Linked DNA regions of Homo sapiens: all the other regions are linked to region 1. The links are contacts of gene promoters, found by promoter capture Hi-C in blood cells and fetal thymus (Javierre and others, 2016). All regions are on one chromosome and are shown on one strand. Each heading gives the region's core, a stretch centred on a gene start or on the middle of the fragment in contact. The rest is flanking DNA. Distances are from core to core; before and after follow the strand shown.

Region 1 (4,696 bases), core at 424-2,923:
AACCCCGTCTCTACCAAAAATACAAAAATTAGCCGGGAATGGTGGTGGGTACCTCTAATCCCAGCTACTTGGGAGACTGAGGCACGAGAATTGCTTGAACCCTGGAGGCAGAGGTTGCAGTGAGCCAAGATCATCCCACTGCATTTCAGCCTGAGTGACAGAGTGAGACTCTGTGTCAAAAAAGAAGTACAACTACTCCAGACATATGGAGTAGAATGCAAAATTGATGAAGGAAATGACTAAGAACATTCCGCATGGTGCTGTCCCCTACAGTGGGGAGTCTGCATTCGCCCTGCGGTGGAAGGTGGGAAGGTGAGAAACAGGGACCCCTGATTAGAAGGGGCTAGGTGCAGATGAGGTGCAGCAGGGGGAATACAATGCAGCGGGAGGAAGGTTGCAGTCCCTGTGCTCGAGGCCCCTGCAGCGGGTCCCTGTCACCCATGGTGCTCTTTCCTTTCTGAGAACTCAGACAATTCAGTGTCTGTGCCACTCCTAGGTTGCCTCGGGAAAGCACTCATATTACATGGTTTTCTAACTTGCCACATATGTAGTCCTTATCTCCTCGACAACATTCTTATCCTCCAACATCTGGAGTGCAGGTGCGGGGTGAATTCAGGCCCTGGTGTTTACTGATTGAGCAAGGCACTTTTCCTCTCAGCCTTGGTTTCCTTATCTGTAAAACATGGATAGTACTTCCCTAATGAGATTGTTCTCAGGATTCAACTAGATAACATGTGTGCAGCATTTCACATAGCAGATGGCATGGATAGGCACTTAGTAAACATCAGAGCCCTCCCAGCAGTGTCAGGCTCTTAGTAAATATCTGATTCTTGAATATTCCCATCCCCAAATATATCCCCCTACCTGAGGCTCCTCTCATATTCTCTGCCTCCCTTCCTGTCACAGTGCATGTGTCTACTGAAGGCCACCCTCTTCCTGTATCCTGGTTCCTGGCCCTCCTCACCCTCACAAAGATCTCACTCACACAACTGCCTCCTCATCTCCGGTAACCTCAGGTTCCCTCGCTACTGGATCTCTCAGATCACTTCTCTCTCTACACTCACTCTGGGGATCTCATCCACTGTTGGAGCTTTCAAGGCCATCTAAAAGATTCCCAAGTTTATATTTTAAACCTAGAATGCCTCAGAATCCGAGACTTACATATCCACTGCCTATACCCCATGTCCCTTTGGAAGTGGCACAGATACTTCAGCATGTCTAAGATGGAGCTCCAGATTCCTGCCCCACCCTTCCCACAAGTCTTCCCATCTTAGTAATGAGAACTCTGTCCTTCCAGTCGCCCAAACCAAAACCTTTGGAGTTATCCTTGGCTCCTCCCTCTTAAATCCCACAGTCGACCAATAGGCAAGTCCTGCCAGTCAGCTCTTCCTTAAAAATACAGAGCGTACCTGGCCACTTCTGAGCAGTCCACCTCCCCACGCTGGTCCAGATCACCCTCAGCTCTCATGAGGCCAACTTCAGTAGCCTCCTGAGTGGTTTTGCTACCTCTGTTTTCCCCAGCTCCACAATCTTGTTTTCCACCAACAGAGTAATGTTTTCGAAACATAAGCTTGACTCTGTCATTTATTGGCTTCAAGCCCTCCAGTATCCTCCCCTCTCACTCAGAATCAAATCCAGTTTCTTATCATGGCCCTAGGGACCAGCCCGCTGCCTGTCTGCCCTCAATTCCCACTACCCTTCCTCACTCCCTGGCCCCCAGCCTCACTGGCCTCCTCAGTGCCTTTCCTGGAGCAGGCTGGAAACACTCCTTCCTCAGGAAGCTTCTCCTTGTTGCTCCTTCTGCCTGGAACCCTCAGATGCAGACCTTGCTCCCTTCCTTCCTTCAAGTCTCTGCTCAAATGCCACCTTAGCAGAGGGCCTTCCCTGACCAGTCTCTCTAACATAGCGCCCCTGGCATCCTTGGACCCTTTCTGATCCCAACTCTGATTTTGCTTACTACTGACTGCTACCTGTCATAATTAACTTACGTGTTTGTTTTTGCCCATCTCCTGACCATTAGTAATACCCCAAGGGGACCTTTGGTGCCTGGCACATAGTGAGTGCTTAGCAGCTGGGCAGGAGGTATGGCATAGTCTGGAAGAGGTTAATGCAAGTGGCCCCTGGTCACTGCACTGCCTCTTGCCTGCTGTGTGCTTTTGGGCAACTTTACTTAACCTTTCTTAGTTTCAGTTCCCCCTCAGTAAAACCTACCTGGAAGGTTTTTTAGGAGGATTCGAGGTAATACATTTAAAGTACCTGAGACATGATCAGTGCTCAGACGGGGGCTACACAGGCCACTTAGCTGCCCTCTAGGCCTGTTTCCAAGAACTTACTAGTGCTGCCTCCATCTACCCCCAGGATAGAGGGCTGCCACAGTAGATGAAGGTAACACTATAGAAGCGGTTACTGACTCTATTCTCCATGTCATACCCTGACCCTGGGTCCCCTGGGCATTGTTTCTGGCTCCAGCCAGTTCTCCTCCATCCCCCAGCACCATCAGTTTCTTTTTTCTTTCTTTTTTTTTTTTTTTTTTTTGAGATGGAGTCTTGCTCAGTCGCCCAGGCTGGAGTGCAGTGGCGCGATCTCGGCTCACTGCAAGCTCCGCCTCCCGGGTTCACGCCATTCTCCTGCCTCAGCCTCCCAAGTAGCTGGGACTACAGGTGCCCGCCACCAGGCCTGGCTAAGTTTTTTTGTATTTTTAGTAGAGACGGGGTTTCACTATGTTAGCCAGGATGGTCTCGATCTCCTGACCTCCTGATCCACCTCCCTCGGCCTCCCAAAGTGCTGGGATTACGGGCGTGAGCCACTGCGCCCAGCCTTTATTTTGTATTTTTTTATTTTTTGAGACGGGGTCTCTCTCTGTCACCCAGGCTGGAGTGCAGTGATGCGGTCTCAGCTCACTGCCAGCTCTGCCTCCCGGGTTCACGCCATTCTCCTGCCTCAGCCTCCTGAGTAGCTGGGACTACACCTGGCTAATTTTTTGTATTTTTAGTAGAGATGGGGTTTCACCATGTTAGCCAGGATGGTCTCGATCTCTTGACCTCGTGATCCGCCCTCCTTGGCCTCCCAAAGTGCTGGGATTACAGGTGTGAGCCACCGCGCCCAGCCATCAGTTTCTTACCAAAGCCCCTCAGATGATGGTCATGTCTGAGCAGGTCCTGCAAGTTGAGACCCTCGCCAGCCCTGCTTTGGATCAAGGTGGCCCCCGATGTGGGAAGCCAGAGGTGCTTGCTGGGAATGTATAGATATGTTTGGACTTCATGAGCTATGGACCCCAGGGGTCCTTCTCTGGCAAAGCACCCATGTTTGTGAGGTGGGCACCGCTTAGCAAGGCAGGTGGCTGGCTAGTCAGGTAGGTTTTCCCTGGCTGCTCCAGAAGGTGAGTCATGAGTAGTTTCCCTGTGGGCCACCAGGGGGCACCAGAGGTCGCTCAGCTCTTCCGAGGACTTGATCCGTCTCAAGATGACTGTCTCCTCCCTCTTCGGCCTAGGACTTTCTTGAAGGAAAAGAGCTGTAGTGGTGCCTCTCTCATCTCCTAACTTGCTAGGGACTGCCAGTCAAAGCAGGGCCACAGTAAAGGACTGAAGGTCAGGATTCCAGGCTCAATATTCTTTATTGATAAGCATTAGTGAACCCCTTGCCCTGGGAGCTCAGCCAGTCCTGCTCTCAGATTCCTGGCCTTAGGTGGGAGAGCATCTTTTCCTCATGGATCAACTGTCCATGTCTGACTGTGCCTAACTTGCCAGATCATGGGTCAGGGAGACAGGCAGCAGGTATTGGAAGGTGATGGCCAGGTCCTTTTCCCCAGTGACCACTCTCCATCTAGAAGCACTCTGCTTCAGCTGCGCAGGCTCTTCCGGGGACTCTGGGAGCCTGCTGGTTAGATGGAGGAGTTGAGCCTCTGACACCTCCAGGTTCTGCCTGCCAAGGGTTCCTCCGCAGCCGGGCTGAGCTGAGCAGGAGCAATGGGCTCTCGCTTCTGTCCTGAGGTTCTTGGGTGGTGAGCAAGAGAGCTAAGGGCAGGAGGTCTTACGTGGTGCCTCATAGGGGATAGAGATGCCAGAGACTGTGGAAGATGGGGTGGGAGGGAGGGATACCCCAGAGAGAGAGAGAGAGAAACAGAGAATCAGTTGTTGAGTCCCTGGATCTGATTTCACCAGCTTATTCTTGGCCATGCCCATAGTCCTTGGGAAACCCCTCAGTTCTAAATAGATAGTTCCTTGGGTCCTGGGTGTACCTTTGCCCCCCACTAGCTTGTAGAGGTAAGAATTATTGGCCGGGTGTGGTGGCTCACGCCTGTAATCCCAGCACTTTGGGAGGCTGAGGTGGGTGGGATCACGAGGTCAGGAGATCAAGACCATCCTGGCTAACACGGTGAAACCCTGTCTCTACTAAAAATAGAAAAAATTAGCCGGGCGTGTTGGCGGGCGCCTGTAGTCCCAGCTACTTGGGAGGCTGAGACAGGAGAATGGCGTGAACCCGAGAGGCGGAGTTTGCAGTGAGCCGAGATCGCGCCACTGCACTCCAGCCTGGGCAACAGAGCAAGACTCTGTCTCAAAAAAAAAGAATTATTATAGTGGCGTGTCCTCCTGAGCCAGGCACCTCATAGAATCTTCTTGCCTGTTCAGCAAGGCCTTCCAACCCTCCATCCATTTCTCCCTCAGGTCAGGACAGCAGGGTGACAGTGCCTGGAGAA
Region 2 (4,211 bases), core at 1,696-4,195, 280 kb after region 1:
GGCTTCATTCTTGAAGTCAGTGAGACCAAGAACCCACCAATTCCGGACACACAACCGGCCATGTGACAGGCTCAGGGAAGGACATGTGACTCAAGGCAGGCCAGTGAAGTGCAATTCTAGGTTAGACTGGCCGGGAAGGAGCGGCCGTGTTTTCTGTTGATGGATGCTGCTGCCCTCTCCTCAACCTCTCACGCTCTGCACTACAGACAACCTCCTTGGGGCTGAGGCCAGCACAGCGCAAAGCACAGCAAGAGGGGAGCCCGAGCCCCTGGATCCAGCCATCCTCCACGGCAAGCTCAGACCACCCGCTCCCTCAGCTCTTTCACAGAACCCTGGTCTACCTAGTTGATGTCTTATATAATTCCACTATTATCTGTGATTAATTAATGTGGAACCACATGATTATCTGTGTGACCTGGTCTGAGGTCTCCCCTAGACTGAGCACCCCCTCTGGACGGCAGGTGAGCATCTGACCGGTCCACAGCTGTGGCCCCCACACAGCAGCTGGCACACACAGGGGCTCTGCATGTTAGACTCCTGCAGTAACACCCAGGGGCATGGGTGCGCCTTACTCCTCTCTGGGATCCCGGAGCCCAGCACAGCGTCAGCCAGGCACAGCAGAGAGAACAGGAGGTGCAGGCTGAGACAGGGCAGTGCAGTGCCTAAGAGTCTGGGCTGTGGAGTCTGAGAGCTCTGGTTCCAATCCCAGCGTGGGGCCCTTAGGCAAGGTGTCTCTCCTCCCTGAAAGCAGTCTCACCAGCCAGAGACAGTGTTGGCCCTGCCTTATGGGCTGTTGTGAGGGTGAGATGAATTGACTCCAAGTACTTGGCACCCAGGAAGTGTCCATTGCTGTGGGGCATGGCGTGACTGGAAGGAGGAGCCCCAGCCAGCGACCTGGAGTGGTCTGCCCAAGGTCAAGGCCCCAGTACAGCAGAAGCAAGAGCTCTAGAGCTGTCAAAGACCTTTATTCAGTCCTGGAGTGGAGCTGGCCTGACAGGGTGAAGCCAGGGGCTGCTTAGGGCGGGCCAGACCCTCAGCCCCTGAGCAGGTCAGGCCGGCCAGGCGGGGCTGGTAGGTACCAGGTGCCAGCAGCTGCAGGGCAAACTCAGTGATGACAGCTGTGAGGCCCCAGACCCGGTGTGGTCCATGCAGGAAGACGGGTAGTGTGTAGCGGAAGTGGCCACCCCGGCAGAAGTGGGTATAGCCCTGATTCTGCGTCTGCAGCAGGTGGGCCAGCGGCAGTGCAAACACCTCATCTACCTGCAGGCAGGAGGCAGAGAGGGTAGACAGAGGACTGGAACAGCCCAACCCCCTCATATCCCCCAGCTCACCTCCTCCGAGTTGGGCCTGAGGCTCTGGGGATCCAGTGGGCCTACACCAGCAAGCACTGGCACCACGGTGGCCTTTTGCTGGGGAAGAGGGCAGGTGGTCAGGGAAGCATGGCCTTCGCTGGGTTTGAAGGCTGGGGAGGGGAGTGTGAGAGGAAGACCCCTTTGCCATGCATAGGCCTTTGGTAGTCATGTTCGGGTCCACCTGCCTGTGTCCTCCAGCCATGCTGACTGACTCAGGTCCCCTCAAATGCACTAGACCTGTTCCCTCTGCTTAGGACAATCTCCCACTTGGCATTCAAGCCTGGGTTCAATCCCTGCCTACCCCATGAAGCTTCCCTGACCCTAATCCACCAAACTGAGTGGAGCTGGCCCACCCCATCGCCCTGGGCCACCTCTACTCAGGACACCAGAGCCTCCCCAATCCCTTCCCGAGGGGGTGTGTGGGGTGGTGCATGTGACCAGGCAGGTTAGGGGCACCCTTCCACACTTTGTGCCCGTGGGGGTCCATGACCACTCTCCTGGTCCCTGGTAGCCCAGCTCCAGGGCAGGCACAGAGTGAGTGAATGGGGTGGGGTGGCCTCAGCCAAGTGGCTTACCGGATCATACACAGGCCGCAGCAGGCCCCACACGTGCTCCTCGGGCACTGCCAGGCCCAGCTCCTCCCGGGTTTCCCGCAGGGCCGTGTGCACCACATCTTGGTCAGCCGGGTCGCACTTGCCGCCTGGGAAACTAAACAGACACAAGGAGTCTGGTCCTTGGACTCTTGGGGCCACGGAGAGGTCGGGGTATCGGCAGTGCGGGGGGGGCCACTGGCCCACCGAAGTGTCGCCTGCCTCTGCCCCTAGTTTACTGGGAGGCCCCAGGCAAGCCATGCGACCTCTGGAGGCCAGTTTACCTCCCTGAGCAATGGGGATAAGGAAGAGAGGCCCGGGACAGCGCAGGATAAGAGGGTCTGCAGCAGGGGCAAGAAGATCCTGGGGCTCAGATACCCAAATTCGGCCTATGGTGGCCCCAGCAACACTGACATTGTCCTCAGGATGTTCTTAATTCCCGCCGGGCGGGGCCCGAACCTCTCCGTAGTCGCCGGCAGGGGGCGGCGTCCGCCCTCTAAGCGGGAAACAGCTCAAAGGGGTGTCCCGGCCCAGGCGTGCGCGCAAGGACGCGTACGAGGGGCCCACGCGGCGAGGACGTGGCGCCCCGGCAGGTGCACCGGGGCCGACGGACACGGATCGCTGACCTCTCGCTGCAGCCCTTGGGCGGAGGGACTCTCCCCAGACCCATTTTACGGAGGCGGAAACCGAGGCTCGAAGGGGCTAAGTGCCCTGCCAGAGGTCCCTGCCAGCCCCGGGCTCCTGTAGCCTCCGGCAAAGGGCGAGGAGTTCCCGGCCGCTGTACCTGACGTCGCCCTTGTGCCTCCCGGTCAGGCGGCTGGACCGCAGCGTGTACAGCAGCGCCGGGACCCCACGCACTGAGCAGAGCGGCACGAGCACCGCGGCCGACGCGGGCCGCGCGCGGAGCCGGGCCGTGGCCCCTGCCAGCAGCCGGCGGCAGCGCAGCTCGCCCTCGGCCGACAGGCAGTCGGGCAGCATGTCAAGTCCTGCGCGGCCGGGACACTGAGGGCGCGGGATCGGGCGAGGGAAGAGGCGGGGCGAGGCGGGGCGGGGCGCTCAGCCCGGGTCCCTCCGAAAGCTGAGAGGGAGAAGGGGCAGCCCGCGCGACGCGTCCCGCCTGGGGGGCTGCAGAGCGGCAGCGGCGTCGGGGGGCCTCAGTGGGGTGGGTCTGTTCGTGGGCGGGGCCTTCCCGGAGACGGGGCCTCGGTGGGACTGGGTCTGTTCGGGGGCGGGGCCTGTTTGAAGGCGGGTCCTCGGTGGGACGGGGTCCGTTAGGGGGCGGGGCCTGTTTGAAGGCGGGGCCTCGGTGGGACGCGTTGAGTCCCCCGGATGGGAGGGACGGAGGGCGGCGGGGCGGGGCGGGGCGGGGCCTGCGCGGGAGCCGGACTCGGACGTTACTGCCAAAGGGCGGCGGGGCCTAGTAGGCAATCGAGGTTGGGGCGGGCTGGGGGCGGGGCCTGGACCGGAGCTTTTGCTACGAAGGACTGGGGGGCGTGGCCAGGAGGACTGTGCTTCCGGCAGGGCCGGGCCGTGGCCGGGGGTGTGGCCGCGGGGAGGGAGATGGGCGCGGAGCTGCAGGACCTGCCGGTTGTGTTCTCCGAGATCCTGAAACCACGCGAACCGTGAAGCGCCCGGCGACCGTCCTCGGTCCCGTTGGGTCCTGGCGTTGGGGTGTCTGATGAGGCCCCGCCGGCCCCCACTGGTCCGTCCCTCCCCTAGGGGCTCCAGGATGTACGGAGCCGGGATCCCACGGGGACGCCCCTCCAGGAACCCGAGGTCGATCGGTGCGCGAGAGGAGCGTCCGGCCCAGCCCTCCCTCCGGTCCTCCCTCCCGATACCGCTGGGTGGCGCGCGCCGCCCCCAGTCTTGTCTTCCCCTCTGGCTCCGTCGGACTCCAGCCCCAGGCCTTTGACCTCCTTGTCCCAGCGTCCAGAGCTCTTCTCCCTTCCTGCCTTGAGTCTTGACCGGATTCCCAAATCCCTCCCCCTTTCCTACCTCGGCCCCTGTGGTCACTGACCACCGTGGTTCTGCGCCCTTCCACCAGACCCTGGGCTTGGGGACCAGATGACCCCAGCCTTGCGCACAGCATTTAAACGTGGGGTGGCGGGTGTCCGCCATGCTCTGCTGTGTGACGTTGAGCAGGTCCCGCGCCTCTCTGAGCGCCAGTTTCGATCCTCATCTGGGCAAGTGCAGCCCTGCCACTGGGCTGGAGTCACCACTTTTAATATTACTGTGTGCTCCCAGGGATGCGGACGGCACTGGGCAGAGC
Region 3 (4,619 bases), core at 1-2,500, 300 kb after region 1:
CGGGGTCCAGGAACCCTCAGAAACAGCAGCCCCCAGTCCTGGCAGTGTGTGCGCGTGTGTGCATGTGTGTGCATGCATGTGTGCATCTGTACATGTGTGCGTGTGCATGAGAGCATGTGTGTGCGTGTGTGCACTCACATGTGTACGTGACAGCATGCGTGTGTGCGTGCGTGTGTACATGTGTGTGCATGTGCATGAGTATTGTGTGCATGTGTGCATGTATGTGTACATGTGTGCGTGTGTGCATGAGAGCATGTGTGCGTGTGTGCGCATGTGTGACAGCATGCATGTGTGCGTGTGTACGTGTGTGCATGTGCATGAGAGTATTGTGTGCATGTGTGCATGCATGTGTGTGTACATGTGTGCGTGTGTGCATGAGAGTGTGTGTGCATGTGTGTGCATGTGTGCATGTGCTTGAGAGCGTGTGTGCGTGCATGTGCGTGAGCATGTGTGCGTGTGTGTGTGTTGTGTGCACACGTGTGACCTGGCTCTGGCCCCACCTCCCTGACAGGCTGTGTGACCTGGAGAGATTCAGTGCCCTCTCTGGGCCTTGGCTCCACCCTGTGAAAGTCCTGGCCAAGGGCAGCTGTGGGGAGTGAGGAACAAAGGGCGGGCACAAGCTTGAAAATGGGCACATGGAGACCCCAGCATGAGTGAGGGCAGAGGATGGTGATGTCATGGGCATCATCACGGGGGCCAATTTCCTCACTGCAGTTGGGGAAACTGAGACCCAGAGAGGGGTCAGAGCTGTGGTTCCCCCCTGTGTCAGCATCCAATTAGATCATGCCTCCCAGCATCACCTCATTGCAAGATGCAATCAGATCACGCCTCATTACCCTATGCTTATAAAACCTGCCCCAGCCCTCAGCTCGGGGAGACACTGCTTTGGGAGCTGTCTAGGTGTTCTCCTTACTTGTTGCAAGAAATAAAATCCCCTATTAAATCCTCTTTAGTTAACACCCGCCAAGCAACTGAGCCCACCCGTTGTGTGGGTAACAAAACTCTGGCGACCCAGATGGGGCCGACTGGGATTCTGATCCTAACTTCTTGAGGCTCACTAAGGTAAAGCAGTGGGCCGCGGCACCTTCCCCGGGCGAACTCACCCACGTGGCCCCAGAGGGTTGAGGGTGACTCCCGGGGATCTTCTGCTTGCTGCGTGGCCCGTGGGGCTGTCACTCCGCCCTACCCCCGAAACAGCGGAAGCAGCTGCCTGGAGCTTTTGTTCTGTGCTGCTCCTTCAGGGAAGAAAGTGGACTTTGCCCCGTGGGTTGACTGAAAGGGTAAATTCTTTGGACCTAGCAGTGGGATCTCTAGACTTCAGCGCAGGGCACCTCTGCTTTCGGTTTCTGTCTGGCTCTACGTGCCGTGGGGGATTGAGAGGCATCTCTGGCCAGGCCAAGGGCAACCCGGATCCCGGATCTGGGTAGACAACAGTGGGACTAGTTTTGGGAATTCGTTTTTTTTTTTTTGAGACAGAGTCTGGCTCTGTCACCCAAGCTGGGGTGCAGTGGCGCGATCTCGGCTCACTGCAAGCTCCACCTCCCGGGTTCACGCCATTCTCCTGCCTCAGCTTCCTGAGTAGCTGGGACCACAGGCGCCCGCCACCACGCCCGGCTAATTTTTTGCATTTTTAGTAGAGACGGGGTTTCACCGTGTTAGCCAGGATGGTCTCGATCTCTTGACCTCGTGATCCGCCCGCCTCGGCCTCCCAAAGTGCTGAGATTACAGGCGTGAGCCACCGCGCCCAGCATGAGAATTTGTTCTTTTTTAGAGAAACAGAATTTTTCACAGGAGGCTGAGCTGCTCCATCTCCCAGAGCCCCTACTTGCCATACCCCGGGTTACCAGAAACAGGAGCTCTGCCATTTGATGAAAAAAATACTTTTTTCAGATAAATGTTTTTGTCATATCATCACACAAAGCGGGTAAAGTTGTATATATATACATACAACTTTTTACAAATATGTGATCATATGTACAAAGGCTAGAAGGAAATATACAGAAAAATATGTATTAAAATACTGGTTTTTTTTCATTGTTTTATAAGATACTCTACAAAACATTACAATGAGGTAGGACTATTTTAGTGCTAGAGAATCTCATTAAATGAATTTGTTCAAGAGCTTCTTTGTCAGCTGGGTGCAGTGGCTCACACCTGTAACCCCAACACTTTGGGAGGCCAAGGGGGGCAGATTGCTTGAGCCTAGGTGTTCAAGACCAGCCTGGGCAACATAGGGAGACCCTGTCTCTACCAAAAAAAAAAAAAAAATTAGGGTGGGCGCGGTGGCTCACACCTATAATCCCAGCACTTTGGGAGGCTGAGGCGAGTGGATCACCTGATGTCAGGAGTGTAAGACCAGCCTGGGCAACATGGCAAAACCCCGTCTGTACTAAAAATACAAAATTTATCCAGGCATGGTGGTGGGTGCCTGTAATCCCAGCTACTTGGGAGGCTGAGGCATGAGGCAGAGGTTGCAGTGAGCCGAGATCATGCCATTGCACTACAGCCTGGGCGACAAGAGCGAAACTCTGTCTCAAAAAAAAAAAAAAAAAAAAATTAGCCAGGTGGTGGCACACACAGCTGTGGCCCCAGCTACTCAGGAGGCTGAGGCGGGAGAATCACTTGAGCACGGGGAGTTGGAGGTAATCGTACCGTGAGTACAGTGAGCCGTTATCGTATGGCTGCATTCCAGGCTAGACAACACAGTGAGACCTTGTCTCAAAAGAAAATAAATAAATAAATAAATAAATAAATAAATAAATAAATAAATAAAGAGCTTCTTTGTCAATATCCTTTTGTGGGTATACATCATAGTCCCACAGTACTTCTTCAACCCAGGGAGATAAATGTGTATTAGTCTGAAGACCCAGGAGAGAATCTTCAAGACTTGGCACTGTCACTGATGATGATCTGCTTCCTTACATTATGACAAATGTATTCCCAGCTCCGGCTTGTTCTGCCTCATTAAGAGAATATTTGAAGACATTATTCATGATAGCAGCATCAGCATTTTGCAGAAGAAACCCTGGGGACAGATGTCTGCATGAAGCACCTTTATTCTGTGAATAAACTGGTATTTTTTAATGACCATTTCCTGCAACTGGCAAAAGTCTCCGTTCAGTTCTACTCCACAGGGTTGCACTGCTAAGCTATAAGATCACCCCATAAAGACTGTGCTGAGCCTGGAGCTGACGTCAGCCACAGCCTTTCCTGATTGATCAGGGAGTGCATGAAGATAAATGAACTTCAATTCCATGAGGGAGAAGGAACGAGCAATCGGTCTAAAGGTTCTGTTTGGTGTGAACCACCCAGTAGTTTCTGCTCATTTTCCCTTTGTCACATAATGAATCAATGAAGTCTTTATCACAAAGGAATGCGTCAGCGTGAATGGTGGGTTCTGGCTGCTGCTGTAGTTTTTGAAGGGTTAGATGTTCTGAGGAAAGCATGGTTTCTAGAGGCAAGCAATTCTGAAGGTCTTCTGCAGTGGGTTTTTTTTTTTTTTAATTTTGAGACAAGGTCCGGCTCTGTCACCCAGGCTGGAGTGCAGTGGCTCGACTGTGGCTCACTGCAACCTCCAACTTCCAGGTTCAAGCAGTCCTCCCATCTCAGCCTCCCAAGTAGCTGAAACTACAGGCACGCACCCAGCTAATTTTTTTTTTGAGATGGGGTCTTGCTATGTTGTCCAGTCTGGTCTCAAACTCCTGAGCTCAAGTGATCCACCCCCTTCAGCCTCCTAAAGTGCTGAGATTACAGGCATAAGCCACCACACCCAACCTTTCTGCTGTGTTTTTAAACACAATGTCTTTATTTCCTTCAGTGAATTCATCAAAATCTCGGGCAGTTTGCATCTGCTGGAGCAGTGCCGGGCGGTCGGCAGAGCCACAGTATAGAGCAGTTACAAGATTTCCTGCCTTGCCGAGTGAAATCTATGCCTTCCAATTTTTTTTAATTAATTAATTTTTAAAAAATTAGATTGGTACAAAAGTAATTGCAGTTTTTGCCATTACTTTCAATGGCAAAAACAGCGGTTACTTTTGAACCAACCTAATATTATAGAGACAGGGTTTCACCATCTTACCTAGGTTGGTCTCGAACTCCTAAGCTCAAGTGATCCACCCACCTCGGCCTCCCAAAGCGTGGTGATTATAGGCATGAGCCACCATGCCCGCCCCTCCCCACCAATATATTTTTAAAACTAGTTGAGTGTGGGCCAAGAGTTGTGGGATCTGTGTCACCACCAATCCCGCCTCTAAGCTGCTGGGTGGGTAATATGGGAAAACAGTAATTGTAGCAGGACTCCAGTGGCAGAAGCCATGCGGATAAACTACAAAAAGCAGAAGGGACACTGGGGATGCTGACATCTCCATTGGTTGAGATTACCCTTAAGGTATTGAGCAACTGTGGCCAGGTCCAGGAAGGGCAAAAAAAAAACAAAAAACAAAAAACAAAAAGGCAACACAAGACAAGAAGCCATCGAGTCTCTTGGCTACAACCAGCCAGTACACAAGAAACAGTTCACTGCGGCCAGGCGTGGTGGCTCATGTCCGTAATCCCAGCACTTTGGGAGGCTGAGGCGGGAGGATCACCTGAGGTCAGGAGTTCAAGACCAGCGTGGCCAA

The links. Contacts are between HindIII fragments. The CHiCAGO score rates a contact against its expected background, and 5 or more counts as called.
Region 2: the fragment with the promoter of NUDT8 here is called in contact with a fragment that was not itself captured in region 1 in 6 of 17 cell types (naive CD4 T cells, total CD8 T cells, naive B cells and 3 more); the score reaches 6.4 in naive CD4 T cells.
Region 3: a contact is called between the fragment with the promoter of ACY3 here and a fragment that was not itself captured in region 1, in 1 of 17 cell types (naive CD8 T cells). The highest score is 5.8, in naive CD8 T cells.

The regions. Positions count from the first base shown.
Region 1 is chr11:67,347,954-67,352,649 of GRCh38, forward strand. POLD4 (DNA polymerase delta 4, accessory subunit) reads right to left here. Exons shown (of 4, transcript NM_021173.5): 4 at 2,819-4,066. The coding sequence ends at 4,042. The region is part of intron 2 of LOC100130987 (a long non-coding RNA gene); the gene reads left to right. Among named protein-coding and RNA genes, the nearest start is that of POLD4, 3.2 kb to the right of the region's middle. RefSeq lists a silencer at 213-352 and an enhancer at 4,273-4,696. The HindIII fragment of the contact is 211 bases long and covers 1,569-1,779 here.
Region 2 is chr11:67,626,992-67,631,202 of GRCh38, forward strand. It overlaps NUDT8 (nudix hydrolase 8), which reads right to left and starts at 2,946. Exons shown (of 4, transcript NM_001243750.2): 1 at 2,727-2,946; 2 at 1,928-2,060; 3 at 1,332-1,409; 4 at 947-1,260. The coding sequence starts at 2,920. The coding sequence ends at 955. LOC124902696 (a long non-coding RNA gene) reads left to right here. Exons shown (of 2, transcript XR_007062741.1): 2 at 1-402. RefSeq lists silencers at 1,487-1,781, 2,349-2,498, 2,789-3,578, 3,699-3,868. The HindIII fragment of the contact is 2,776 bases long and covers 1,661-4,211 here.
Region 3 is chr11:67,649,480-67,654,098 of GRCh38, forward strand. ACY3 (aminoacylase 3) reads right to left here and starts at 1,251. Exons shown (of 8, transcript NM_080658.2): 1 at 1,104-1,251. RefSeq lists enhancers at 1,323-1,402, 1,473-1,532. The HindIII fragment of the contact is 12,167 bases long and covers 619-4,619 here.